4 separate regions of the Homo sapiens genome follow, and regions 1, 3 and 4 are each linked to region 2. Evidence: promoter capture Hi-C in human tissues and cell types (Jung and others, 2019). All regions are on one chromosome and are shown on one strand. The core of a region is centred on a gene start or on the middle of the fragment in contact, and the rest is flanking DNA. Distances in the headings are between cores, read along the strand shown. Region 1 has its middle 41 kb from the start of TNRC6B-DT. Region 2 holds the start of APOBEC3B (apolipoprotein B mRNA editing enzyme catalytic subunit 3B). Region 3 overlaps FAM83F (family with sequence similarity 83 member F). Region 4 has its middle 13 kb from the start of TNRC6B-DT.

Evidence for each region. The method cuts DNA at HindIII sites, captures the fragments that hold promoters and counts their contacts. A contact is called where the count stands out against the background at its distance.
Region 1: a fragment that was not itself captured here is called in contact with the fragment with the promoter of APOBEC3B in region 2 in 1 of the 25 tissues and cell types used here (dorsolateral prefrontal cortex).
Region 3: a contact is called between a fragment that was not itself captured here and the fragment with the promoter of APOBEC3B in region 2, in 1 of the 25 tissues and cell types used here (dorsolateral prefrontal cortex).
Region 4: a contact is called between a fragment that was not itself captured here and the fragment with the promoter of APOBEC3B in region 2, in 1 of the 25 tissues and cell types used here (dorsolateral prefrontal cortex).

What each region holds. Positions count from the first base shown.
Region 1 is chr22:40,082,590-40,089,401 of GRCh38, reverse strand. It overlaps a transcript of TNRC6B not described here. Among named protein-coding and RNA genes, the nearest start is that of TNRC6B-DT, 41 kb to the right of the region's middle. The HindIII fragment of the contact is 3,769 bases long and covers 1-3,243 here.
Region 2 is chr22:38,981,086-38,987,734 of GRCh38, reverse strand. It overlaps APOBEC3B (apolipoprotein B mRNA editing enzyme catalytic subunit 3B), which reads right to left and starts at 5,388. Exons shown (of 8, transcript NM_004900.5): 1 at 5,265-5,388; 2 at 3,504-3,660; 3 at 1,644-1,923; 4 at 1,323-1,437. The coding sequence starts at 5,281. RefSeq lists silencers at 1,045-1,240, 5,205-5,254 and enhancers at 2,475-2,764, 1,807-3,006. The HindIII fragment of the contact is 18,696 bases long and covers 1-6,649 here.
Region 3 is chr22:40,021,769-40,028,306 of GRCh38, reverse strand. It overlaps FAM83F (family with sequence similarity 83 member F), which reads right to left. Exons shown (of 5, transcript NM_138435.4): 4 at 6,344-6,538. Among named protein-coding and RNA genes, the nearest start is that of TNRC6B-DT, 19 kb to the left of the region's middle. RefSeq lists enhancers at 3,138-3,207, 4,626-5,126, 5,127-5,627. The HindIII fragment of the contact is 7,125 bases long and covers 1,633-6,538 here.
Region 4 is chr22:40,053,990-40,060,379 of GRCh38, reverse strand. It overlaps a transcript of TNRC6B not described here. Among named protein-coding and RNA genes, the nearest start is that of TNRC6B-DT, 13 kb to the right of the region's middle. The HindIII fragment of the contact is 4,520 bases long and covers 2,154-6,390 here.

The sequences.
Region 1 (6,812 bases), core at 110-2,609, 1.1 Mb before region 2:
AATTAGCTGGGTGTGGTAGTGTGTGCCTGTAATCCCAGCTACCGGGGAGGCTGAGGCAAGAGAATCGCTTGAACACGGGAGGCGGAGGTTGCAGTGAGCCAAGATCACACCAATGCGCTCCAGCCTGGGTGACAAAGTGAGATTTCATCTCAAAAAAAAGAAAAAAAAAGTCTATGAAGAAATCAAGTTAACAGGGTTTTATTTAACCTCTTTTATTTTATATTTGTATCTCCTTTCACCCATGTTGGGAATCTGGATCTCAAAACAGTGGAAATTATAAAGTACCACATAATTACTCATTTGTTTTTTTCTGACAATATACACTCAACAACAATCTCAAAATAGTACTAACAAGATCACTGGTATGTTCCACATGAGTACAGTTGAAGGACTTTGTTGTTGTTGCTACTGTTTGTTGCAGTTCTTTTTTCACTCTCAGGGCATATACCCACTAAGAATGTAAAGTTCGAATTAGTGAGGTTTAAAATTTAGGTTTACTTGTTTCTCATTTTCCATTTAAAAAAGCTATCAACCATATTTAAGGCAGTCTAGCTTCTCTCCCTGTCCCCTCTACCCTATTTCCTTCCTCCTTCTCTCATAATTTTTAAGCTTGTATGATTTATTCTTCCATTAAAAAAATATAAATTGGCTGGGCAAGGTGGCTCACACAGGTAATCCCAGCACTTCAGGAGGCCAAGGTGGGTGGATCACCTGAGGTCAGGAGTTAGAGACCAGCCTGACCAACATGGTGAAGCCCCGTCTCTACTAAAACACACACACACACACACACACACACACACACACACACACACACACAAAAGTAGCCGCCGGGCATGGTGGCAGGTGCCTATAATCCCAGCTACTCAGGAGGCTGAGGCAGGAGAATTGCTGGAATCTAGGAGGCGGAGGTTGCAGTAAGCTGAGACTGCACCACTGCACTCCAGCCTGGGCAACAGTGTGAGACTCTGTCTCAAAAACAACAACAACAACAAAGAAAACAAAATAAATAAGTTGCAGATACTGAGATCAAAATATGTAGAAGCTCTTGCATTCATAGTAAGTGGAAGAACAGAGCACAAACACCACTGGGTCTGTAGTCAGAAGGCCCGCTGTCCAGTTCCTGCTTCACCACCTATTAGCTGGCCTTGAGGAACTACCTAATTTTTCAGAGCTTCAGTCTCTTTTCTGTATGATGTGAAAAATAGTAAATATCCACCTTATAAGGTCGCTGTGAGGATGAGACGAGATAGGAAAGTCTTTTAAAGGTACAACTTTTTATGAGTTCATCCTTGGAGTGAAGGTTTCTGAAGATTAGCCAAAAATAATTCCGTTTATTAAAAGTTTCTTTCACTCTTAAGTACAAGGTAAGCAGGAATAATTTTAAAAATATTTCTTTATTAACAAAGGACCCTCGAGAAATAGGAGAGAAAAGCTGAACTCAGAGTTCCCAGCATCTCCCAGGAGGACCAAGAGGTCCTGAAAAGTATTATGTCTGGTCTCTAGTCTGGGTCACCAAACGCTGTACATCTGTAACGGAGATGGAGGCCAACAGCAGCCTCTGTGATGAGGGCCCTGCCTACATCTCCAGCTCCTCTCCTAATTCCCTGCCTCCCTCTCAGTCTCCAGCCTCACTAGCATTCCCAGGTCCCCCAAGGCTTCAAGCTCTTTCCTCCCTCAGGACCTTCACACATAGCTAGCCCCTTTGCTTGAAGGCTCTGGACCCAATGATCACCTGGCCAATGCCTACTTTTCCTTTAAATCTTTGCTTAAATGTTACTTTGTCAGAAAGGCCTTTCTGTCCTCTCAGACTAAGCCAGGCTCCCCCCAGTTAATCACTCTTACAGCTCCCTGTATTTTTCCTAAAATGCACTTACCAGTGTTTGGAATTACATATATAATTGTCTTTCTCCCACTAGAAAATGGTCAGTTTAGCATGTGTGTTTCTTATTTCTTTATTCTCATTTCCTAGTACCATGCCTGGTATTACTCTGGTGCTCAGTATGTGTCAAATGAATAACTGAATTAATGAAAAGCTTAACATATCATGTATAAAATGGCTGAATTAGATCCTGAACACTGGGAAAGAAGGCAGGACCAAGTTGTTACATACTGAAAAAAATTTCTACATTCCAGAGTCTTCCCATAAGGGGGCAATATTCCATTCTCCTCTAACTTGATTCATAATTTAAATATACAATCATTCTAATGATATATTTCCATCTCTTATCTATAATGAGTTTTTATGATAAAAATATCCAGAAACACATTACTTACACCAAACACAAAACTAAGCTTTTCACTACTGATGCAGTATAAGCTGAGGATATATAATAAAGCAAAATTTTCCAAACACAACACCAGGCCCTCCTAAAAATGCCAGGAAGAAGGCTTGTGTCTGTGAGAGGGGAGCCTACAGGGACGGGGGACCTGGAGATAAAAAAAAGACTTAAGAAATACATCAAACAAATGCTATAATGATAATCTTTAAACACTGCCTGGTTTTTATGTAGCTGGAAATATGAAAAGCTTATTAGCATCTCTCTTCACTGGACATGATGAACAAAGTATGGCAGAGAGAGGACAATCAATTTTAAAGGGGAGTTAAGGCTTCATTTTATTTCTATCTAAAACCTTTGTTTTCCTTTTTCTCTAACGACAAACGAAAACACTCCATATTTCATAGAAGAAAAAATTGAATTTCTCTCCATTCAAATTCAAGGTGAAAGAAGACATCTTTTGAACTCTACAGATATTCTGATAAGTATCTATTAAAAAGTCTGTCATCCATTGTTCAAGCATCCAAATGTGCCTCCATATATCCTTTCCTGCTGAAAAGAACGAGAGCTCCCTGAAGAAATGACTGAGGGCTGAGACAGAAGATGCATAAGATGAACCTAAACATATCATCATACCAAAAGGAAGGACACTATAAAAAGTCTTCAGAAACCAACTTGAAGGGGCTCCTCTCACTAGTCAAGGATGGGATCATTTGAGCATCAATAAAAAATAATCATTGCAATGGATTCACATCTATGAAATATGATGAAATCCATCAGTTCATAATGAAATAAGTATATTTTAAGACCTTACTGGTCTCTTTTGGAGGATACTAGGGAATCAATTTATTATTATGAAAACTGATAAAAAAGAGAAAGAATCAATCATTTAATCTGCCTTTCCTAAATGGAATATACCTCAGATTAACCACAGAGTGGATAAGAGACTATTTCTGGCCAAGCATGGTGGCTCATGCCTGTAATCCCAGCACTCTGGGAGGCCAAGGCAGTAGAATTGCTTGAGCCCAGGAGCTCAAGACCAGCCTGGGCAACATGGCAAGACCCCGTCTCTACAAAAAAAGTAAAAATTAGCCAGGCATAGTGGTGTGCACCTGTGGTACCAGCTACTAGAGGGGCTGAGGTGGGAGGATCACCTGAGCCCGGGAGGTTTAGGCTGCCATAAGCCATGTTTGTACCACTGCACTACAGACTGGACAATAGAACAAGACCCTGTCTCAACAACAACAACAACAACAACAACAACAACAACAACAACAGCAACAACAAAAATAGTTTCTCTAGCTAACAAACAAAGACAAATGACTTAGGATATTACCATTTTGTAAACCCTAATTAACATATCTTAGTATTGCTCTTCAATAGCTGTTAACATCATAATAAGATTAGATGAAACAACTGGTTATTATGTGCCTCTTGATGGAAGTAAACACCACCTCCTATAAAATATTCTTGCCAAAAAAACCCAATCTGAATTAGATCAAGCCTCCTCTGGATATAACTACAAGTTTACATAAAATTCAAGGTAAAGGAACACTCTTCCTTGCACTCTGAATGGACACAATTAGCAAAATCCAGAATGTAAGAAACTATAGGACAAACAACCAAGTTTCTTTTTAAGATAAATTGAGGGGAAGAAGAGTGAGGGAAGCTACAGATAAAGAAGCTTAGGAAACATTAACCAGATACTATGTTGGTCCCTTTTTTTGGATCCTAATGCAAATAAACCAAATTTAACAACTAAAACAAATTTTTAAAGTCTCTGAATTTTTTGTAATATTAAGGAATTACATTTTTAGATGTGACAATTGTATAAGGCTTAAGTTTTTTTTAAAAAAGTCCTTGCCTTTTAGAGAGACGCACAGGATATTTATGAATGAAATATGTACGTGTGAGGGGCTGCAGTCACCTGAAGGTTTGTCTGAGGCTGGAAGATCTTCTTCCAAAACAAAGTGCTCACATGGTAGCTGTTAGCTGGAGTTCCTCTCCATGTGAGCCTTTCCACAGGCTATTGAAATGTCCTCACAACACAGCAGTCTGACTTCCCTCAGAGCAAGTGCTCTACAAGAGGGAGGCAGAAGTTGCAATGACCTAACAACAGAAATCACAAACCATCCTTGCCACGATATTCCAGTGGTTACACAGGTTAGCCCTGTTCAGCAGGAGAGGGGACTACACAAAGGCATGATACCAGGAGGCAAGGACCACTGGGCCATCTTGGAGGCTGGCTAGCACACCAAGGCACTTAGAATTAACATACATGCACCAAACTCCTGAGCATGACTTTCAAAACCCTTCGTCATCTGACTCCTACTGCACTCTAACCTCATTTCATCCCACCCTTTCTCAGCCCAATAAACTCCAGCCTTCCTAGCCTCCTCCTTCTCCTCAAAGGTGAGGGATTTGTACCTATTTCAGAGCCTTTATATTAACTGCTCCCTCAGACTGGATTAATTCTCTCCACTCATCATTTTATCATCCAGATCTGAGCATAAATAGCACCTCCTCAGAGAGGCCACCAAGTCTAAAAGGCCATCTATCCTCTTTCTGTCCCAGAACTCAATTTTTTTGGCAGAACACTTATCACCGTCTGACATTTGAGCACATCTGGCTCAGTGTTAAACTCTCTGGCACAATTAGTCACTACGGTTAACATACCTTTAACCTTCAAATGCATAACCTAGCCCAACACCCTGGCCTTGCAGTTGTGGAAACTGCTCAGCTCGAAGGACCTTGTCCTTCAATCTGCCTCACTCACACTCTACCATCATCAAACTCAGCTCATCTTGTGTCACCAAATTCAATTCACGGTGTGATTATTTTAGCTCACTGGCTCAAGCGTCCCATGCAAACAACTTTTCAACTGCCATGGGTCCTTCTACCCCTTGACCCCATTTTCCTTCTCCTGACTTAATTTTTCTCTTTAGCTTAGATTACATAGTTAATCATTATAATCACTTACTTGCAAGAACCTTCAATTCGCTTCCAAGGTCTCCTTCTCTCAAACTCCACAATCCCAGAACTCAAGCAACTCCCTTCTCCATGCCAAGAATACTGATGAAAAAGCATTTAACTTGGCAGGTTTACCATAAATTAAAGGTCAGGCAAATGGGCACTCAATTTAAATTGGCAGTCTAACTAGATCTCTTTAGCAGGCTGGCTCTCCTACTCTCCCCTCTGCAAGAAGGCTATTTCTTACTTATTTTCCCCTCCTCCCCAACCCTTCCCTGCCTTTTAAGCTAATGTCAATGACTCTTCATTGAGAACAAAAATACCATAATACAACGATCTGCTATCTCACGACCAGTTGTATAAACCTACCTGAATCTGCATCAATTTTCCCCTCTTTCCCCTATTTCAACAGAAGTGGCCCTCCTCCTTTCTAAGAATACTTATGCTCCTGATCCCATCCCCTCTCTCTTACTCATAAACTCCAATCTTGCAATTCTCCCCTTTTTCCTCCACCAACCTTCACTCACTGTTTCCTGGATCACCCCCACGTGCATACATGTTCTAGTATGTCCCATCTTAAAAAGATAAACAAAAATTATTCTTTGACTCTGTATCACTCTTCAGCTAATACTCCATTTTTCTGCTCCCTTCACAGCCAAACTTCATCAGAATTAAGAACCTGCTATCTTTCTCATACTTTCTCACCTCCTACGCAAGCTCTGTTAAAACCATTCCGACATGACTTCTGCCCCTATCATCAGCAATATCCATGCTGCCAATCCAATGAATAGTTCATGTAACCCTTTCAGCAGCACTCAATTCAGTTAATTATTCCCTCTTTTTTAAAATGATCTCCTTTTGATTTCATTCAACCAATAATTACTGAACACTGTCCTGGCCAGTCACTGTCCTGGGATTGGTGAGGGATACAGCAGCTTCTAGGGCACCACACTCTCCTGGCTTTCCTTCTATGTCTTTGACTCCTCTTCTCTCCTTCATCCTCCTCTGATTCTATCCTTAAATGCTAATAGTAATTCAGAACTTAATATCAAACCCCCTTCTCTTTACTTTCTCCTTAAACAATATTCTCCATTCTCATGGCTTTTATTATTGTCTTTATAATGAAAACCTTCATATTTATATCTGTAGTTGGGAACTTTCCTTGGAACTCCAGTTCTCCTGTATTCAATTACTTAACTTGATATTCCCACTTGGGTGCCCCAAAGCATCTCGGACTTAATATAATCAAATTTTAACTCTTGACTTCCCCCCAAAACATTCCATCTACTTGAGTAAATCTCAGTAAATAACACAATATACAGCTTTCAAGCCAGAATTCTGGATTTCTATGCCTTCCTCCACTCCCACTTCTAATCCACCGGGAAGTCCCACAGAGTCTGCCTCCAAAATACATCCCAAATGTTTTCACTGTTCTCCATTTCTCTGACTATTATCATCTCTTCCCTAAACTATGGCAATAGCTTCCCCATTGGTCTCTCTGTTCCCAGCCTTGTCTTCCTCCAATCTTTTGGATACATACCTGTAAAAATGCAAATTAGACTGGCT
Region 2 (6,649 bases), core at 4,139-6,638:
CACGGAGGAGGAGCCTGTGTCTGGGGTCGTGTGCATCCTCCTCTGCTCACAGCGGAGGCGTCTTTGGAAGAAATGACTTATTTTCTGGTACAGAGACCATTTCCTCCCCCACACCCTCTCCTAAGACTTTGTGTTGAAACAAAGTAAATCTTACAGAAATTCCATCAAAATGCTAAGAACAAAATGCCTGATTGCTCCAATCATCCTTTGGTTCAATTCTCCCAGTTCCAGAGCTCAGGAATGGTGGGAAGCATATACAGGGAGCACCCTCCCAGGGCAGGGAGCACCAGCCCAGCGGTGACTTTCAGGGAAGAGTCTCAGCAGGGGGTCTGGCCTGGGGCAGGTGGGGGAGGTGGCCCATTCAGAAGCAGCAGTGGGGCGACCACACAACAGGGCAAAGAGCCTGGCTGGGAGTGGGGGTGGCAGAGGAACAGGAGGGGAGAGAGCCCAGGGCTGGGGCTGGGACAGGGGGAGGCCAGGGCTGAGGCCCAGCAGGACCACCAGGCAGGAAAGGGCAGCAGAGGCCCCATGGGCAGAGCGGGCAGTGGTCCCTGATCTGGGGCTTCATGTGCAGCCTCCCTGGCAGGCTTGTCTTGGCCCTGATGTTAGTCCTGGGTTTGGATTCTATTTCTATCTTCCAGGGCCCTTGTTCCAGGAGACACCTGCGCTGTGAGTGACCTCCCAGGCCCATCTGAGTGCAAGCCTCACTTTATGCTGCTTTCTCACCTGGATGGGAGGACATCTGGAGGGACCCCTGGATCCTGCCCTCAGGAATCATCCCAGGGACCCCCCCCGTCCCCAGCCACCCAGCAGCTATGTGGTAGTGAGGGAGAGTCAGGGGCAGGTGTCTGCCTTCCCCCATGCCTTCACACTCAGAGGCCACCATTGGAGGGAGGAATAGCGGGTGGGGGTGGCCCTCAGATGTCCCCCCAGGATGCCATGGGTGCCCCCACACTGAGCTCCTTCCTTCCACATCTCCTGCCCAGAGTTGTTCCCTGGAAGGCTGAGCTCTTGCCTCCTCTTGTCCCCATGTCACAGAAGGGCAGCGGCTGGTGTCCCAGGCCACCCTGTCTTGCTGTTTGTTCCTCTAGTCCAAGACCCAGGTGCCTTAGAGGCAGAAGGGGCCTCTTACTCACAGGAAGGGCCCAGGAAAGCAGGGAGGAGGCAGTGTGGAGGGAGCACCAGGAGTTAAGGGAAGGTGGTGTGACCATGAGGGCAGGCAGTGGGTCAAGAGGGAGGGCGGGAGGGCCAGGCCAACGGAGGCCTCAGGAGGATGAGCAGGTGAGAGGAGAGAGATGATGAGGCCAGAGGGAGACCCTCACCTGAGAATCTCCTTTAGCGTGCGGTGCAGGAATGCATAATTTTCATCGAATTTGTACCAAGGCATGAATTGCTGACCTTCATTGTACACAAAGTTTTCCCAGCAGTATGCAAATTCTGAGATGAAGAAGCGGGAAGCAGTCAGGCTCTCCCCTGACCCTGGCCTGTCCTCCCAGGCCTGGTCTCCTGGCTGTCAGTTGCAGTCAGTGCCAGTCCCACCCCTGCAGGCTGCCCTGGGACACCCCCAGCCATGGCATTGCAGATCCATCCATCTTTCATGCTGTTCCTCCCGCTCACGCTCCCCTGACCCCTCCACCTCTCACCTTCATAGTCCATGATCGTCACGCGGGCTCCTGCCTGACTCAGCCTGCAGAGCGCCCTTCGGTAATCTCTTTCCCAGTAGTAGTAGAGGCGGGCGGCAGAGATGGTCAGGGTGACATTGGGGTGCTCAGACAGGAATTCGGCCAGCTTCGCCACACAGTCCGGGCAGGGGGTCCAGGATACAAACCAGGTGATCTGGAAACACTTGTAAGCAGGCAGCTGGTTGCCACAGAACCAAGAGAGGAAGCACATTTCTGCGTGGTACTGAGGCTTGAAATACACCTGGGAGAGGAGCAGGGGGCAGGGGATGCTCTGAGAGGGGGAGCAGGAGGAGTGCAGGGGTGGGGCAGGGAGAGGAGGGGCCAGGACAGGAGCCCAGGGGATCTTGCCATTGAAGCTCCTTTCCTCCATCCCCCCTGTTTAGTTTGAGTGATTGTCTGCTCCAAAGCTCACGTTCAGTGTTAATGGCTATTGTAATGGCCTTAAGAGGTGGCACCTAGAAGAGGCTATGAGGCTGTGGGGACTGCACCTTTGTGGGTGCCACTGCTGTGGTTATTCAAGGGTGACTTCAGCCCCTCTTTCTGTCTCTTGCCCTCTATCTGGAAGGGCAGTGTGTCAGACTAAACTCCTGCTTCCTCTTGTCCCCGTGGCATGGAGCAGCTGTGACTCGACATCCCAGGCCACTCTGTCTGGAGCATCCCCTGAGCTTGTGGCAACAACCTTCACCCTCATGTGACTGTTCAGCTCACAGGCTGAGGCAGGAGAATCACTTGAACCTGGCAGGTGGAAGTTGAGAGTGAGTCATTGCACTCCAGCCCAGGCAACAAAGAGTGAAACTCAGTCTTAAAAAAAAACCAAAACAAAACAAAACAAAAAAACAGAACTGTGGGAAGTGGCCAGGTGCGGTGACTCATGCTTGTAACCCCAGCACTTTGGGAGGCCAAGGCAGGTGACTCACCTGAGGTCAGGAATTCCCCAGCCTGGCCAACATGGTGAAACCCAGTCTCAACTAAAAATAGAAAAAATTAACTGGGCGTGGTGGCAGCCTTCTGTAATCCCAGCTATTCGGGAGGCTAAGGCCGAAGAATCACTTGAACCTGAGAGGTGGAGGTTGTAGTGAGCCAAGATTGTGCAATTGCACTCCAACCTGGGTGCCAGAGCGAGACTCCATCTCGGAAAAAAAAAAAAAAAAAAAAAAGGAAAAAAAGAGAAAAAAGAAATGTGGGAAAAATACACAATTGAGAGCCCAGTGCTGGGCATTTTACTTATTGTTGTGTTTTCTGCATTTCCAGCTGCTTAGGTCCTACTGTAGCAAGGGTTAAAAAGAAAAGAAGAACAAGTTTTCCTCTGCCTAGCCAGCTCACTCCAACGACAGTTATAACACTGCCTGAAAAGTCAAGGCCAAAGGAATGGGCTCCAGACACCACCCCCACACCCCTCCAGGGCAAGGTTGAAGAAAATTTTAAAAAAATTTTTTAAAAAAAAGACAAATTCCTTTACTGTCTCTCCTTTCCAGAACCATTATAACTATATTTTACAAATGTCTGTATTTAGCCAGTTCCTGTTTTCCTTTTGATGTAGCTGCAAGGCCACCAGCTATAGAAGGCCCCAAGTTATGCTAAGTCATCTGTTATGCTATAGATTATGTGACCTGTCACTGTTTGATTAATCGCCTTTGTTCTGCTTCTGTAAGTTTGCTTATAAATACCTCAGTCTGTCTTTGTTAAGGGCTCAGCCTTTTTGGATGTGAGTCTGCTGAACCAGTGCACCTAAATAAATCCTCCTGTCTCACCCATATCAGTCTCTCCAGTCCTCTAATTCCTGCAACACTGCCTGTGATTCGATTGAAGTTTGGGTGGTACCTGGCCTCGAAAGACCCCTGTGTCCCAAAGGAGATTTGAGCGGCCCCTCTTTATTTTCACTTCATAGCACAGCCAAGTGTAGCTCCGACCATAGAGGATGGGTTCGTTTTCAAAGTTGTCGTAGAATGTGTCTCGATACATCCGCTCCATCGGATTTCTGAAGGCACAAGAGAGAAACCGGCCCATGCAGGGAGCCCTCCCGGGAGTCCTCGGGGCTCATGTCCACTGAACACAGCTCCCAGGATGGCCCTGGGCCTCCCCGACCCCTCCACAGCCCTGAGAATTTCTGCTGCCTTCCCAGGCAGGAAGACTGAGGGGAGAGGAAGAGGAGGGGATGCTGGCAGGCGGGCTGGGGTGATCTCTCCCAGCTCGGGTCCAACTCTGGCCTTTCCAGGGGTACATTCCCCACCCTCCTAGTATTTCTGCCAACCCACTCCCCAACCCATTAGGAGAATGCAAAAGAGAATAAAACCCTTCACCCCTAAAAAATAGCTTTTAACCTTTCAGCTCAATTCCTTCCTGATGTTTCACTCTGCGTGTTAACATTATTTTAAAATCATGGTAGAACTGAATTCTGAGGCCCAGGCCACTCTTCTAAGTGCTGAGCGGGTGTGAGCTCACGTGAGGCTACCCTAGGCCTGCAGGGGCCATTCCCATCTTACAGAGGAGATGCCAGAGGCACAGAGAGGCGGGGTAACCTGCCGAGGCCACAGAGCTGGGGACGGATGGAGCAGGGGCCCCTTTCCAGGCCAGCCCTGTCCAGCCTCTGCATCACGGATCCTGTAGGAGAAAGCTGTTGGGGACTGGGCTCTCTTTTCACTAAATTTTAAAATCAGAGCATTTCTCCTCATCATTGCACTTTTTTCCCACATTCTCACATTCCATGTTACTGATCATGTTCTTTCTTTTTTTTTTTGATGAAGTCTCACTCTGTCGCCCAGGCTGGAGTGCAGTGGCATGATCTCAGCTCACTGCAACCTCCACCTCCCAGGTTCAAGCAATTCTCCTGCCTAAACCTCCTGAGTATCTGGGACTAGAGATGCGCCACCATGCCTGGCTAATTTTTGTATGTTTTTTAGTAGAGACGGGGTTTCACCATATGGGCCAGGTTGGTCTCAAACTCCCGACCTCATGATCCGCCCGCCTTGGCCTCCCAAAGTGTTGGGATTACAAGTGTGAGCCACCACGCTCAACCACTGGTCATGTTCTAAAAGATGAAGAGTGACCTTGGAGTGGAACCTGTCTGGGGACATCTGCTCACCATGGAGTCATCCTTGGATGACACGATTTATCATGTGCTTCAGAGACCATTCCTACCCCCGCACCCTCTCCTAAGACTTTGTATTTAAGCAAAGTAATTCTTACAGAAATTTCATCAAAACACTGAGAACAAAAATGCCTGATTGCTCCAATTACCCTTTGGTTCAATTCTCCCAGTTTCTGAGCTCAGGAGTGGCAGGAAGCACACAGAGGGAGCACCCTCCCAGGGCGGGGAGCACCAGTCCGGGCATGACTTTAAGGGAGAGTCTCAGCACGGGGCCTGGGCTGGTGCAGGTAGGGGAGGCAGCCCATTCAGAAGCAGCAGTGGGGTGACCACACAGCAGGACAAAGAGCCTGACTGGGATTCGTGTGGCAGGGGAGCCAGAGGGGAGGGAGCCCAGGGCTGGGGCAGGGGCGGGGGGAGGCCAGGGTTGAGGCCCAGCAGGACCACCAGGCAGGAAGGGGCAGGAGGGGCCCAGCAGGCAGAGTGGGCAGCGGTACCTGATCTGTGGATTCATGTTCAGCCTCTTAGATACGCTTGTCCCTGTCCCGCTCTTTTTTTGAAGCTCTGTGGTTTCACTTCCTGCTTACAGCGTCCTTGCAGTTGGACAGCCCTCCTTAAAGTGACCTCCCAGGGCCTTATGAGTCATGGCCCCTCCCCATTCCTGCTCAGGCATTGGTGTGGGAGGCCCCGGGGTGCTTCATGTTTCTCTGGCTCTGGCTCTGGCTCTGGTTTTCCCCGGACCCTTCCCGCTGGCAGAGGAACCTCCAATAAAGACAGGCTGCTCTGTCTTTATCTGTCCTGGGCAGGACCCAACGGAATTGCAAAGAGAAAGAGAAAGGCATTGCAGCCTGAGCCTGGGAGGCGGGTCCAGACCCAGCTGAGAGAGGGGCAGGTGCCCCGTTGCCTGGTGGTTGGGCAGGCTGGAGCCCCCTCTCCACCACCCCCTCCCCAGCCCTAATGTGTGCCCAGAGCTTTGAGCAGCACCACCCTGTTGAGTGAGGGGAGGTTTTGAGACTCCAGTGGGGAAGGAAGTGTGGACTCCGCACAGCACAAGGGAAGGCTTAGGTGTGCCTCGAGTTCCCAGCTGTGTGCTGGGTCCATGGCATGCGTCCCCTCTTCCAACCTCCCAGCTTCCAGAAGGTGGGGGGCAGGTCAGCCCCTCAGAGGGACTGCGATGTCTGCGACACCAAGGAAGGGAGAAGGGTGTCTATAAACAGGCTCACTGCCCAGGGACCTCTCAAGGGGTTCTTTGTGGGCCAAGAAAACGGGAAACACATACACACACAGCTTTCTGATTATTTAAGTCCATCTAAGCATATTTTGGAGGAATGAATGTACATTGAAATAATCTTCCTAAATAGATTCCTTTAAGGGGAGTTTGTTCCAGCTGGAGAAGTTGTGCTCTCTGTAGAGGCTCTGAACTCCTCTGGCTACGACGACGGGAATGCAGACAGGGAGGAGGATGCGTGGGTGGTAGGGGGAGCAGCAGCGCCCCTACCTGCACAGAAGCTTGTCCAACCTCTGCACAAAGCGGACTCCCAGTGGTTGTTTTTGGAAGGTGAGTTTTCTTTTCTTTCTTTTTTTTTTTTTAAATCTTCCCCAGTATAAATCTTTTAATTTAAAAGTAAATTTTATTGTCGAAAATGCAAACTTGGGGAGGGCAGAAAGATCACACACAGGGCTGTCACTTCACACCTGGGGGGTTGCTGGGAGCCGTCCAGAAGCGCTCCTCACTTCCCAGACGGTGCGGGGGCCGTCCAGAGGCGCTCCTCACTTCCCAGACGGTGCGGGGGCTGGGCAGAGGCGCTCCTTACTTCCCAGACGGTGGGACAGCCAGGCAGAGGCGCTCCTCTGGAAGGTGAAGTTTTCTGTTGCCGTCAGA
Region 3 (6,538 bases), core at 3,946-6,445, 1.0 Mb before region 2:
CCCTGCCACACAGGCTGCTGCTCCTGCCCACTGCACTGTGACCCACGGCCTCGGGCCTCATCCATCCAGGCAGACTGAACGAGCTCTTCAGGACTGACCACAAATCCAGCTGCACCCTCATTAAGGGTGTTCCCCCACCTTTGGGCAGGAGGCTGCGCCCCAAGGGCTCCATGGCCAAGGCGCTGGGGGTCACTTTCCGCAGTGGTGCCGAGCACGTCTGGGGCGGCTCTGCTAGTGGGATGAAATGCGGCCATCTTAGAGTCACTCACTGCTGCAATGGACACATTCGTCCCCATTTCCCCCCATCAGCTGGTTTGATTTGCGTGGCCCACTAAGCAGATGTCAGTTCCTCCCCAGAGGCAGCAGCATTTTGGAGGCAGGTAAGCAAATCAACCTCCAGATCGTTAAACAGGGGAGGCGGTGTAGCTGGGGGTGGGATGGTGGTGGGTGGTGGTGGGGGTAGCTGCTTCCCAAGCCTGCACACCACCCGGCTGGCTGCCTCCGGGAGAAGCCTGGCAAGGCAGGGGCAGGGCCCATCTTCACCAGCACCATGCTCCCCACTTTTTTGTAAGGCAGGGTGAAAGCCTGGAGACAGCACCTAGACTCAGAATTCATTTCCTAGCCCCGGACAGGACAGAGAAACTGGCTTGGCTTGAGGACAAACTCTGTGTCCCTTGTCATTCCCTGAGTGCTCACATATTGGGAGCTGACCACGTGTGGGGAGTCAGCCCTGCTCAGGTGAACAGGGAAGGTGTATAAATGACCAGAATAGTCTTTTTTACAAAGTATGCGTGGCCTGGGAGCTTCAGAGGTGACGCCAAGGTGGAGCTGAAAACGGGTGCAGGGTGGGAGGAGGGGCCGCTCAGCGGAGCGGAGCCATGTGACATAAGCATGGGGTGAGGGTGGCAGCCTGGGGCACTCGGGACCTGCAGTCAGTCTGGTTTGCTGGCAGGTGAGGTGGTGCGGGAGAGAGGGAGGCAGAGGTCACCCACATGGAAGCCATGACAAGGACAATGATGTGCAAACCGCATGCACAGGCTCCAGGGCTTCGCATTCCCTGTATCTGGAAGAATCTTCCCTCAGATGTCCACAGGGCCCTCTCCTTCCATTGAAGTCTTGCTCCGAGGCTCCTTGGTTAGAGAGGCCTTCCCTGGCACCCTTTATAGAAGGGTCATCCTCCCCTAATCCTCGTCTCTCCCCAGGGTAACATGCTCCATAAAAGCAAGGACCATGTTCATTCTGTTCACAGCTGTGCCAGGAACTTAGAGCAGGGCCTGGCACAGAGCAGACACTTCGTAGACACATATTTATTGAATAAAATGCATGAGACAGCAACGGCGAGCTACTTAGGGGTTTAGCACAATCCTAGTAACAACAGTAATAACAGCAGCAGATGCCCCAGACGCAGCAAGAGCAAGAGAGAGATCTGAGACCTGCGGCCCCAAGGGATGACACAGGAGAACAAGTCCCCCAATCCAGCGGCCCAGCAGCCACAGCTCTACAGAGCCAGACCACACTGCCAGCCAGGGGGCCAACCACACATAAATCCAGGGACCCCAGGAGAGTTCTGGAAAGGGACTGTCACTGCAGGTCACCTCAGAGAAACTGGGAAGCAAAGCACAGGCCCAGGGACTCTGGGGCAGGAAAGGACCCCGAGGCACTCTGGGAAGCAAGTTGCTGCTGTCATCTTCCTCTCGGCCCCCACAACACCGTGGGAAAGGGCTGGTCCTCTATTTGGGGCTCTGGTTCTTCCGAACAGTTTTTTGTTTTGTTTTGTTTTGTTTTTTGAGACAGATTCCTACTGTGTCACCCAGGCTGGAGTGCAGTGGTGTGATCTCCACTCACTGCAACCTCCACCTCCCGGGTTCAAGAGATTCTCCTGTTTCAGCCTCCCGAGTAGCTGGGACTACAGGCAAGTGCCACCATGCCTGGCTAATTTTTTGTATTTTTAGTAGAGACAGGATTTCACCGTGTTAGCCAGGATGATCTCGATCTCCTGACCTCATGATCTGCCCACCTAGGCCTCCAAAAGTGCTGGGATTACAGGCATGAGCCACCACGCCGGGCCCAAACAGTCTTTAAAGGTGCAGGGAAACGGTGCCGATCCTAGCCTTCTGGAGATGGCCATGATATCTGCAGAAGGCTGGGGAGGCAGGAGATCACACTGCCCTTTCTCCCTGGGCAGCCACGGACACAGGGCCTGGCCTCTCTGAACCTTGGGGGTCTCATTGTGAGATGCTGTCATCAGGCAGGATGGCAGCGAGGAGGACGCCAGTTCCATGTGATGGAGTATGGCACCATGTCTCTCGCCACTTCAAAAGTGTTGGCCATTTCCCAGTCATCTCCCTGGGGGAACTGGGTGGGGTCTCAGGCACAGCACAGGGATCTCCTCCCCTAGGCTGGCAGCACTCAAAGGGCAGGGCCTCATCTGTGTTTCCTCAGTCGCCACGGAGTCGGCTGGTCTGAGGACCCTCTGCACTGGGGAGCTACACTGGAAAATGAGGGCCCTAATTTAAAATGCAGATTCCTAAGCCCTGCCCAGTGGTACAGACTCTATTTGTTGGATTTTATTTTTATCTTTAAAAATTCTATTATTATTATTTTGAGATGGAGTCTCGCTCTGTCACCCAGGCTGGTGTGATCTCAGCTCACTGCAGCCTCTGCCTCCTGGGTTCAAGTGATTCTCCTGCTTCAGCCTCCCAAGTAGCTGGGATTATAGGCACCTCCCACCATGCCCAGCTAATTTTTGTATTTTCAGTAGAGACAGGGTTTCACCATGTTGGCCAGGCTGGTCTCGAACTCCTGACCTCAGGTGATCCACCTGCCTCGGCCTCTCCAAGCGTATTTGTTGCATTTTAAAATTTGTATTTACTTTTGCTTTTATTTTTTTGAGACAGGGTCTCTCTGTCGTCCAGACTGGAGTGCAGTGGCACAATCACAGCTGACTGCAGCCTCGACTTCCCAGGCTCAAGTGATCCTCCTGCCTCCACCTCCCAAGTAGCTGGGACTACAGGCACACGGCACTACCCCCAGCTAATTAAATTTTTTTTTAAGAGATGGGGACTTGCTATGTTGCCCAGGCTAGTCTGGAACTCCTGGGCTCAAGGGATCTTCCCAGCTCAGCCTCCCAAAGCACTGGGATTACAGGCATGAGCCACCGCGCCTGGCCTCGTTGCATGTTTACCAAGGCTCTCCACTGAGGCTGCTCTGTGAGTTTGGGGGTCCCTGACCCAGGGAGCCTGTGCGGAGGGCACAGAAGCTCCAGAATAAGGGATGAACACTCCCAGCAGGAGGCGAGGGCGGAGGGAAGACGTAGAAGAGGCGCCTAGCTTCTGCCACTAGAGTGCGCCGTGAGCCTTGAAACCGCTGGGCACCCCTGGCCCCCAGCTGGATCCCCAGCCGGAAAGGAGGAAGCAACTTCCCTAAGGTTCTCCCAAGGGCCACACCTGGGTTTGCAAAAATTTGCATGCTGTTTGACAACTATATACTCCTTATCAAGCAATTTTACAGGCTGTCAGCTCTGAGCTTTTTCTATTTTTTCTCTTATGACAGAAACTGTCATCAACTCAGGTTCTCCCTTGACAAGAGGGCAGCAGAGACAGAAAGAACAGAGGCAGAATCTGAACTCCAGGGGACCTCGGAAACCCTCAATGGTGCACTCCCCCACCTTCTAGATGAGAACACAGCCCCAGGGAGGGGACGGATGTGTCCTGGGTACAGGGAGCAATGTGTCCCGAATTGAGAGCCAGGTGGCAGCTGCTCTGGGAGGTTCTGAACATTTACCAGGGGAAGGGGACACTTTCCCTGCATGGGGGCCCAAAGGCAGGAGCTCAGGTTCTCACTGATTCCCACGGTGGGTGCCCCATGCTGTCAGGGGCCCACCTTCTCACACATGCAGTCCTGGCTGCTTAGCTGCTGCTGCCTGAGGGGAGACACTGAAGCAGCCCCACTTGGCCATGGTGTGGGAAGCTGGAGGCCGTGAAAAAGGGCCTCTTAGGAGAGGAGCTCCTGGCCAGGCGCGGTGGCTTGTGCCTATAATCCCAGCGCTTTGGGAGGCCCAGAGGTAGGAGGATCACTTGAGGCCAGGAGACCAGCCTGGGCAACATGATGAGACCCTGTCTATACAAACAATTTAAAAAATTAGCCAGGCATGGTGGCACACACCTGTGAGCCCAGCTACTCAGGAGGCTGAGGTGGGAGAATCGCTTGAACCGAGGAGGTTGAGGTTGCAATGAGCTGTGGTCGCACCACTGCACTCCAGCGAGACATTGTCTTAAAAACAAACAAAACCAGCAAAAGACAGGAGAGGAGCTGCTGCTTCTCCCTCAGGCCTTGGGAGGGAGAGGAAAGGTGCGTGAATTTCAGGACTGCAGGTACTGGGCGCCCACCCAGGTGGGCAGAAGCCTTACCGGAGGAGGCTGCTCTGTGTTCGTCTAAAGGACGGACAAGGAACGGGATGATGGTTCCGGGCATCCCCGGACCTTCCTGGCTGTCCGTGCCCTCGCCCTCACTATTCCCTCTCTCTCTCTATCCCAGCATCAGGTGCCCTGGAGAGGAGCTTCCCAAGGGTACCGTCTGTGTCTGCAAGGCTGGCTCCTGGGCACCATGTGCAGACACCAGAGAGCGGCAGCAGGGGCAGGGCCGCCGTGACCACCCGAGATGTGGGAGCAGGGACATGGATGTGGAGGGACACGCAGAAGGCAGCGGGAAGGGACAAGACAATGGGCTTTGAGTTTCCATGGAAACTGCATCTCAGGGCGAGGGGCTGAAGGAAGAGAAAGCTTCCACTCCACTTCAGTCAGGACTCGGGAAATAGTCCTTGCTGCTGTCGGCTCGCCCCCTCCTTCCCCTCTTCCACCTCCTTCCCCTCTTCCCCTCGCTCCCTTGCCAGGTGTTCACCATGGCAACCCTTCCTCCAAACCAGAGGTACAGAGCAGGAGCAGCAGCAGCAGCAGCAGCTGGTGTTAGGGGAGCCAGGGAGCCCAGGAGGAATGGGGATGGGGCCAGCCACCCCTCCCCTGACAGAACATGGCTGTGCCCATGCCTGGTCTTGAATCCTGGCCTTACTACCACTTCCTGTGACCTGGGACCACTTCATTCACCTCTCCGAGCCATCTGCCACCTCTGTGCTTGAAGGGTGGTTGTGGGGGCAGAAGGGGAGAGAGAGTGCCTGTGCAGGACCTGGCAAGCCAGCAGCTCAGTCAACGTCTCCAGGCCAAACAGAAGGAACGCCCTGACACTCCCACTGTGCCCACAGCCACAGAGGCGCCCAGGCCTGTTCCAACTCCAAGAAGCAAAGTTAGCCAACATTTCCTGAGCACAGAATGTGTCAGACTCCAAAGCAGTGCTGGGGAATTAGCAGAGGGGATGACACTTGTGCTCCCTGCTCTCACACCATCACAATCCGGTTAAAGCTGGTGTGCAGGAATGCAGGAGTCCTGGAAGCCCTTGGGCCGGGCACACAAGACCTCAGGCCCTGCCATCGCCCACCTGGCCAGCCAGAGCCCAGTTCTCATCACTGGGCTCCACAGCGATGGAGGGAGAAACCCCACCATGGAAAGTCCCCTGACTCAGGGATGCAGAGATGAGAAAGGCACCGCCACCAGCCACCTGAAAGGCCACCCCAGAGACTGCTGCAGAGAGAGACATAAAGTCCAGGGCCTCCTGGGGATCCCAGAGAGATGCCCAGAAAGACGCTGCCATGGAACAATCCCACCCAGGGACAAGCAGCTGGGCAGACAGCACTCAGCAGAGGGACGTGGAGAAACCAAGTCGGACTGCCCGTCACAGAGACAGGAAACTGGGTCAGGGCACCAGTAGGGTACAGGGGAGGGTGGGGTGTGTCTAACCAGGTGAGATCCTGACAATAGGTGATCTGGCAAGGGAAAAGGTTTGCTAGAAAGAGCCCTCAACTCAGAGCCAGGGTCGAGCTGCAGCCATGCACCCCACTGTGCAGAGCCCCCGTTTCTTCACTTACAAAGGAGAAAGTTTCTCAGCTTATTTGATTTGTTGGGTTACCATGAGGGCTGATCTGAATGCCTTCTAGCAGTAGCATTAGAAGCTCTGAGACCCCTCCATGCCAAGCCTGGAATCCTTCTCTTTTTTCAGAGAAGAGGAAAATGAAACTCAGAGCTGCAGGACTTGCCCAAGGCCTCCAGGCAGCTAATGGCCGGGGCCAGAATGGGAACCAAGGACCCCGGAACCCCAGAGCTCCTGCCCTCTCTGTGCCCACAGATGGAATCTACTCCTCTGCAGGTATGAGGCAGTGCTCCTGGATAAGAGCCGATGCGGGGCGAGGGCCAGAGGCCTGGGGAGGCACCAGGCCAGAGGGAAGAGGGCTCACCTGAGATGTCAGCACTGGAATTCTCGTTGGGCCTCTTCCCCGTCAGAAACTCCACTTCAGAGGTCTCGGTGGAGACAGAGCTGGCCATGCCATTGGGCGCCGCAGGCCTCTTGGCTCGGCGACTGAAGAGCCTGCTGCTGAAGCGCCTGGCGGGGGCGGCCTCCCCCCGGGCCGCTTCTCCCATGCCGTTTCGGC
Region 4 (6,390 bases), core at 3,164-5,663, 1.1 Mb before region 2:
TGGCGAAACCCTGTCGCTAATAAATTTATAAAAATTAGCCGGGTGTGGTGGCACACACCTGAACTCAGGAAGTGAAGGTTGCAGTGAGTGGAGATCGTGCCACTGCACTTTAGCCTGGGCAACAGAGTGAGACTTTTTGTCAAAAAAATAAAAAAATAATAAAAATAATAAAAAAAAAAGTCATGTGCATTTTTTATGTTAAAACTTTTTTTGCTAAATTAAAAAAAAAAAAAAAGAAAAAAAAAATGATGGCCGGGCACAGTGCCTCACGCCTGAAATCCCAGCACTTTTGGGAGGTCGAGGCGGGTGGATCACACGAGGCCAGGAGTTTGAGACCAGCCTGGCCAACACAGTGAAACCCCGTCCCATCTCTACTAAAAATACAAAACTTAGCTAGGCAATGGTGGTGTGTGCCTGTAGTACCAGCTACTCAGGAGGCTGAGGCAGGAGAATCGCTTGAACCTGGGAGGCGGAGGTTGCAGTGAGCCGAGACTGCACCAGTGCACTCCAGCCTGGCAACAGAGCGAGACTCCGTCTCGGGGGGAAAAAAAAAAAAAAAAAAAACCAAACTCTATCATGACCAATGGGGCTTATCCCAGGAATCCAGGGTTGTTTAATGTTCAAAAGTCAGTCAAAATAATTTACCATGTTAACAGACTAAAAAAGAAAAAACATATTTTAATATATTTTAAAAAGCACATCCAATGAAACAATCTCCATTCCTGATTAAAAACTCTCAGTAAACTAGGATTAAAAGAGAAATTCTGGAACCTGATAAAGTGCAACTATGAAAACGCACAGATCATACCACAGTTAGTGATACAAGACTAAATACTTTCTCCCTAAGACACAGGAGAAAAGCAAGAATGCCCACTCGTATCACTTCTGTTCAGCATGGTACTCGAAGTACTAGCCAGGACATTAAGGTATGAATTAGAACTCAAAGACTGGAAAGTAAATTTGTCTTTCTTTGTAAATGATATATTTGTTTAAAAAAACATCGAAATCTATAAAAATGCCATTAGAACTAATGAATGCAATTAGCAAAGTCTACGTAATTCATTATCATCACAATCATATCAGTAAGAACAAACTATATCCAAATGAAGGAGGCGTTACTTAAGAAAGGCTTTCAGGAAGACAAAGTTTCGAGAAGGCTTTTTGAGAGTAAGGGGGACAATGAATTGGCAGCCAGAAGCAGGGAGAAAATTTTACATAAGTCAAACCTTTATAGAGCATGGGGACAAAAAGAGAGAAAATAATATGGAAAACAGAGAAAAGATTGTACAGAACGCAAAGATTCAAAAGAAAGAAATGACAGTTGATAAATGGGAGCAGTAAACGAACTTGGCTGGAACAAAGGTGTTTGGATTTCACACAGTAAGGACAGGTTGCTAAAGAAAGGAAAAGAAAATAGTACGTAGGAAATGTTTTCTGGGGAGAAACTAGAAACAAGACAACTGACTAGAGAGCTATTTAAATAACCCAGAAATAGACCAAGGATGATTTAGATTCAGGATGGTGGCATGAACATAAAAATGAGAAGGTCAAAGTCCAAAGCCACAGAGAAAAGAAAAACTAAAGGATATGGCAATGTTTCCAGATTCAATGTGTCAGAATTTCAAGATTCAAGTACTGGGCAGGTGGGTTGCCAGCGACAGGGTATCCAACAGCATCACGCCTCTCCAGACGGAGGTGAAGTAGGGGCCCCTCTCCAGCCTCCAGTTACCTTTCTGAAAAGCACCCTGAATGATAAGCCCAAGGTCTGAAAAATAGGAGGTTAAAGCAAAGCAAGAGAAAATGACATGAAATACACATTTTTCAGTACAGTCAGTCAGTCTAGAGACTGTCTGCTTCCAAAGCTAACGTGCTGCATCGGTTGAGTCCCGGCTCTGGCCAGTTCAGGAAGCGCAGGCTGGCGCCACAATGTGCTAAAGCACATTGTGTCACATTGTGCTAAAGCACATTGTGCTAAAGCACATTGAGTCACAAGTTTTGGAGGACAGGTAGAGGGCCCCCTTTTTAAAGTTTTCAAACCATCCCTTACTGGCTTGAAATGTGATGTCTTTTACATCTTCATTCATTCTTCTTCTCTTTGTGATTTCTACCAAGAGCCTTTTTTACCGTTTATGTTTTGTTTTTGTTTTTTGGTGTTGTAAAAGTAGTATTTTCCCCTCTGAGCCTTTTGGCTACATACTGGGGTATGGGGCATAAAAAGATCTCCTCTTTCTGGAGCAGTCCACAGACCCACCTGCATGGTTTAAGCTGGAATCAGTAAGTATTGTGGCCTTTTGTTTAAGGCAATTGAGCCAAAATGCAAGATAAAACACTGTAAATTTTAAACATATTGGTGTAAAAATATAAAACTTGTATAGTAAAAAGAAGGTTGACAAAATTGACTAAAGAGTAGATGGTGAAATATTAACTTAAAATCTGTTGTCCATGGTACATCTAACAGGAAAGTCTTTATTTAGAAGGTCTACAGAGATAACATCTGAGTAAAACCTCTCCTCAGGAAAAGGATATTACTGAGCATGAGACACCATCAGCAGGATTTTCACAGGAGAAAGACATTTAGCTCCTCAGAGAGCAGCTGTTTCATCTTTTACTTTGGATTGCCTTCCTCCACATCAGAATCTTGTACCCAGCAAGTACCCAAGACATTTCTCTTGATATGCTGACCAGGGGGTCTCCAGGTTAGAAAGCCTGGTCCACTTCCAGTTTTTGAGGCTCGAGATATGTATATATATTTTTTTAAATAAAGACATGCCAAAACACCATTATGAAAATTCTGGGCCAGGCAGGGTGGCTCACGCCTGTAATCCCAGCACTTTGGGAGGCTGCGGATCACCTGAGGTCAGGAGTTTGAGACCAGCCTGACCAACATGGAGAAATCCTGTCTCTACTAAAAATACAAAATTAGCCGGGCGTGGTGGCACACGCCTGTGATCCCAGCTACTCGGGAGGCTGAGGCAGGAGAATCACTTGAACCCAGGAGGCGGAGGTTGCGACGAGCCGAGATGGTGCCATTGTACTCCAGCCTGGGCAACAAGAGCGAAACTCTGTCTCAAAAAAAAAAAAAAAAAACCTGGCATATTTTCAATGTACACATTTAATAAATCAACACCTTTAGGAAAAAAATTCAATGTAACTGTACTATTCACAAGAGGATTAATAAACATGTTCCCTTGTCATAAACCACAGATAGTGTTACCTGGTAAGAAGTTTAAAGGTATAATCAGTATCATCTTTCAATCCTGTGACTTTATCTCGACTGTTTACACCTACTATGTGCAAACCATTCTAGTGGGTGCCATGACAAAACAAAGTAGCATAAACTCATTTTGAGCTCAAGGTATCCAAGATGAGAACCCATGACGACTTCTTACTCTGTTGAGATACTACAAGGAACTTCCAATGAATATAGTCTACCTGTGCCCATGGGAGGAATCTGGTGGCCTTGCCCCATCAAATCTGCTACCATCTCTATTCAAGCAACTTCCATTTTTCTTTCTCCGCTGGGTGCTTCCTGTATATCTTTTAATAGATTATAGATTTTTCTTTCTTTTTTTTTTTTTTTTTGAGACAGGGTGTCACTCTGTCTCTCAGGCTGGAGTGTAGTGATGCAATCCTAGCTCACCGCAGCCTCCAACTCCTGGGCTCATGCAATCCTCCTGCCTCAGCCTTTTGAGTAGCTAGGACTACAGGCATGTGCCATCATGCTCAGTTGATGTTTAAAACATTTTTTGTAGAGATGGGGGTCTCACTATGTTGCTCAAGCTGGTCTCGAACTCCTGGCCTCAAGTGATCCTCTTACTCTGGCTTCCCAAAGTGCTGGGATTACAGGCATGAGCCACTGCACCCAGCCTGATTTTCTATCTTACTTAAAGGTGTTGCCTTCTCAACCTCGTCCTGCTTCCATTTTTCTCTGTCCTTTCTCTTCCAAACATCTTAAACTAAACTGCATTCATTACTACCATTCTCCCTATCATCACTTAGCTCCTTAGCCCTTTGTTATGTAGATCAAATACATACACAGAACTTGCAGAAATCGGCATTACCGTAAGTCAATTAACATCTTGTGAGTGTAATCAGCACTACCAGAGCATAATCACTTCTTCCCATTTGAAAAATATCAAGCTCTGAATATGCAAAGCTGAGAAACATTAGTTTAGCCAACAAGGTATGGACATCCTGCAACTGAAAGCAACTTAGCGGAAATAGAATGGAAGATGGCTAGAGATGGGGTGGATGGGGAAAGGAGACACTACTTAAGAGTAACAGGGAGAGAAAAATGGATAGGAGGAGACAGAAAAGGAAAGAGACATTGAAAACAAATAGGAGTAAATGAAGGAAAATGGGCTACATTTTTATCCAATTAATCTCCCTTTTTCAAATCTGGTTGAGAATTAAATTAGATTAATGTTAGCTCAGTGAACCACTTGGAGACTTGGAGATATGTAAAGACCTTCAAGCTGTAGGAACTGTCTTTCCCAGAACATATACCAGAGGCCCTTCTGGGTAGTCCTCTTTTCTGATTTCCTCTCTTTCACTGGTTCAGTGTCTGATCCATTTGAGATGGTATCAGCACTCACCTCAGGTGATCTAGAAGTCACTTCCTTTACACTCTCTGCTCCTACAGATAAGCTTAAATGAGTCACCACTTTCTAATTCCACCTAACATCATTTGCATGGTTATAGGTACACCACTGAAGCAAGTATATTAACTAGAAGTGACAAGTGCCGTTGTGGTTTATGATTATCTTCTCTGAATGGTACTCTATGCCTTTATGAATTCAAACATACAGATTCAGATCATTATTCTAAGGTCATTTCCTGTCCTAAACTGCAGTGGAGTAAGAGGCTGAGTCTGACATATCATGGTTCAACTGTAAGTCAGCTATTAGCCCTGTACCCTAATGCCAGCCTTGTAAAGCATACCGCTGTGCCGGTCATCTTCTCCACATACTAAAAACGCTCCCCCATGCCTCTACACAGGCTGTTCTCTCTGCCGGAAATGCCCTTTTCCTCCACAACTTAGTGTGAGTGTCACCTTCCCTGGGAAGGCTTTCTCAACCTCCCCATCGTGTTGATGACCTTCCTTTTCATCCCCGCAGCACCTCTTGTACTGTCTATTACAGCACTTATTACACTAAATGGCACTCATCTGTGTCCACATCTGTCTCACCCACCTGGCTGTGCATTCCTTGGGAACAAAGATCTCCTTTCGCCCCACCTCTGTAGTCCTGGCTCCTAGCACAGCATTCAGCATGTCTATGCATTCAAATGTTTAGTGAGAGCGTCATCATGTCAAGCCCAAGCATAATTTCTTTTCTTTTTTTGGAGACGGAGTCTTGTTCTGTCACCCAGGCTGGAGCTTAATGGTGCAATCTCAGCTCACTGCAACCTCTGCCTCCCGGGCTCAAGCAACCTTCCTGTATCAGCCTCCCGAGTAGCTGGGACTACTGGCGCGCACTACTACAACCAGCTAATTTTTTTTTTTTTTGTAGAGATGGGTTTCACCATGTCACCCAGGCTGGTCTCGAACTCCTGGACTCAAGTGACCTGCCTGCCTTGGCCTCCCAAAGTGCTGGCATTACATGCATGAGCCACCAAGCTTTGCCTAAAATGAGGTTTTTTAGAAATTCTATTTTAAATTCTCTTTCTTAACTTCATTTGAAAAAATATTTATTGAGGACCTACTATGTGCAACTCACAGTGCTAGATGTTGGTGACACAAATGTGAATAAAACAGAGTATTTTTATTCATGTAGCTATTTTCCAGAAGGGGAAATATAATATACAAATTAAATAATTATACAATTGATATCTTCTAATGTGGGGCGGGGTGATTAGGAAGTCATTAAAGAGGAGACACACACACTGAGCTCAGGATTGAAGAGGCATTAACTAAGGTTGGGCCTGCGGGCTTCCAGCTGTGAGAATAGTATGCTCAAGGAAGGGACCTTGGGTAGTGAAGAACACACATTTCCGGAACTTGAAGAGGGTCAGTATGGTGAGAGTACACTCAGCAAGGGGGAAGACAGTAGGAAAAGAGGCAGGGGACGCTGGCAGAAGCTTCACTGGGCAGTCAGTGAAAAAGGCAAGAACAAGAATTCAGGTTCTTATCAGGGTCTTTAGGCCTCACTGACAGTTTTGTTTTTGAGACAGGGTCTCACTCTGTCACCCACACTGGAGTGTGGTGGCGCAATCTCGGCTGACTGCAACCTCTGCCTCCAGGCTCAAGCTAGCCTCCCACCTCAGCCTCCTGAGTAGCTGGGACTACAGGCAGGCACCACCACGCCCAGCTAATTTTTGTATTTTTTGCAGAGACAGGGTTTTGCTATGTTGCCCAGGCTGGTCTTGACCTCCTGAGCTCAAGATATTCAC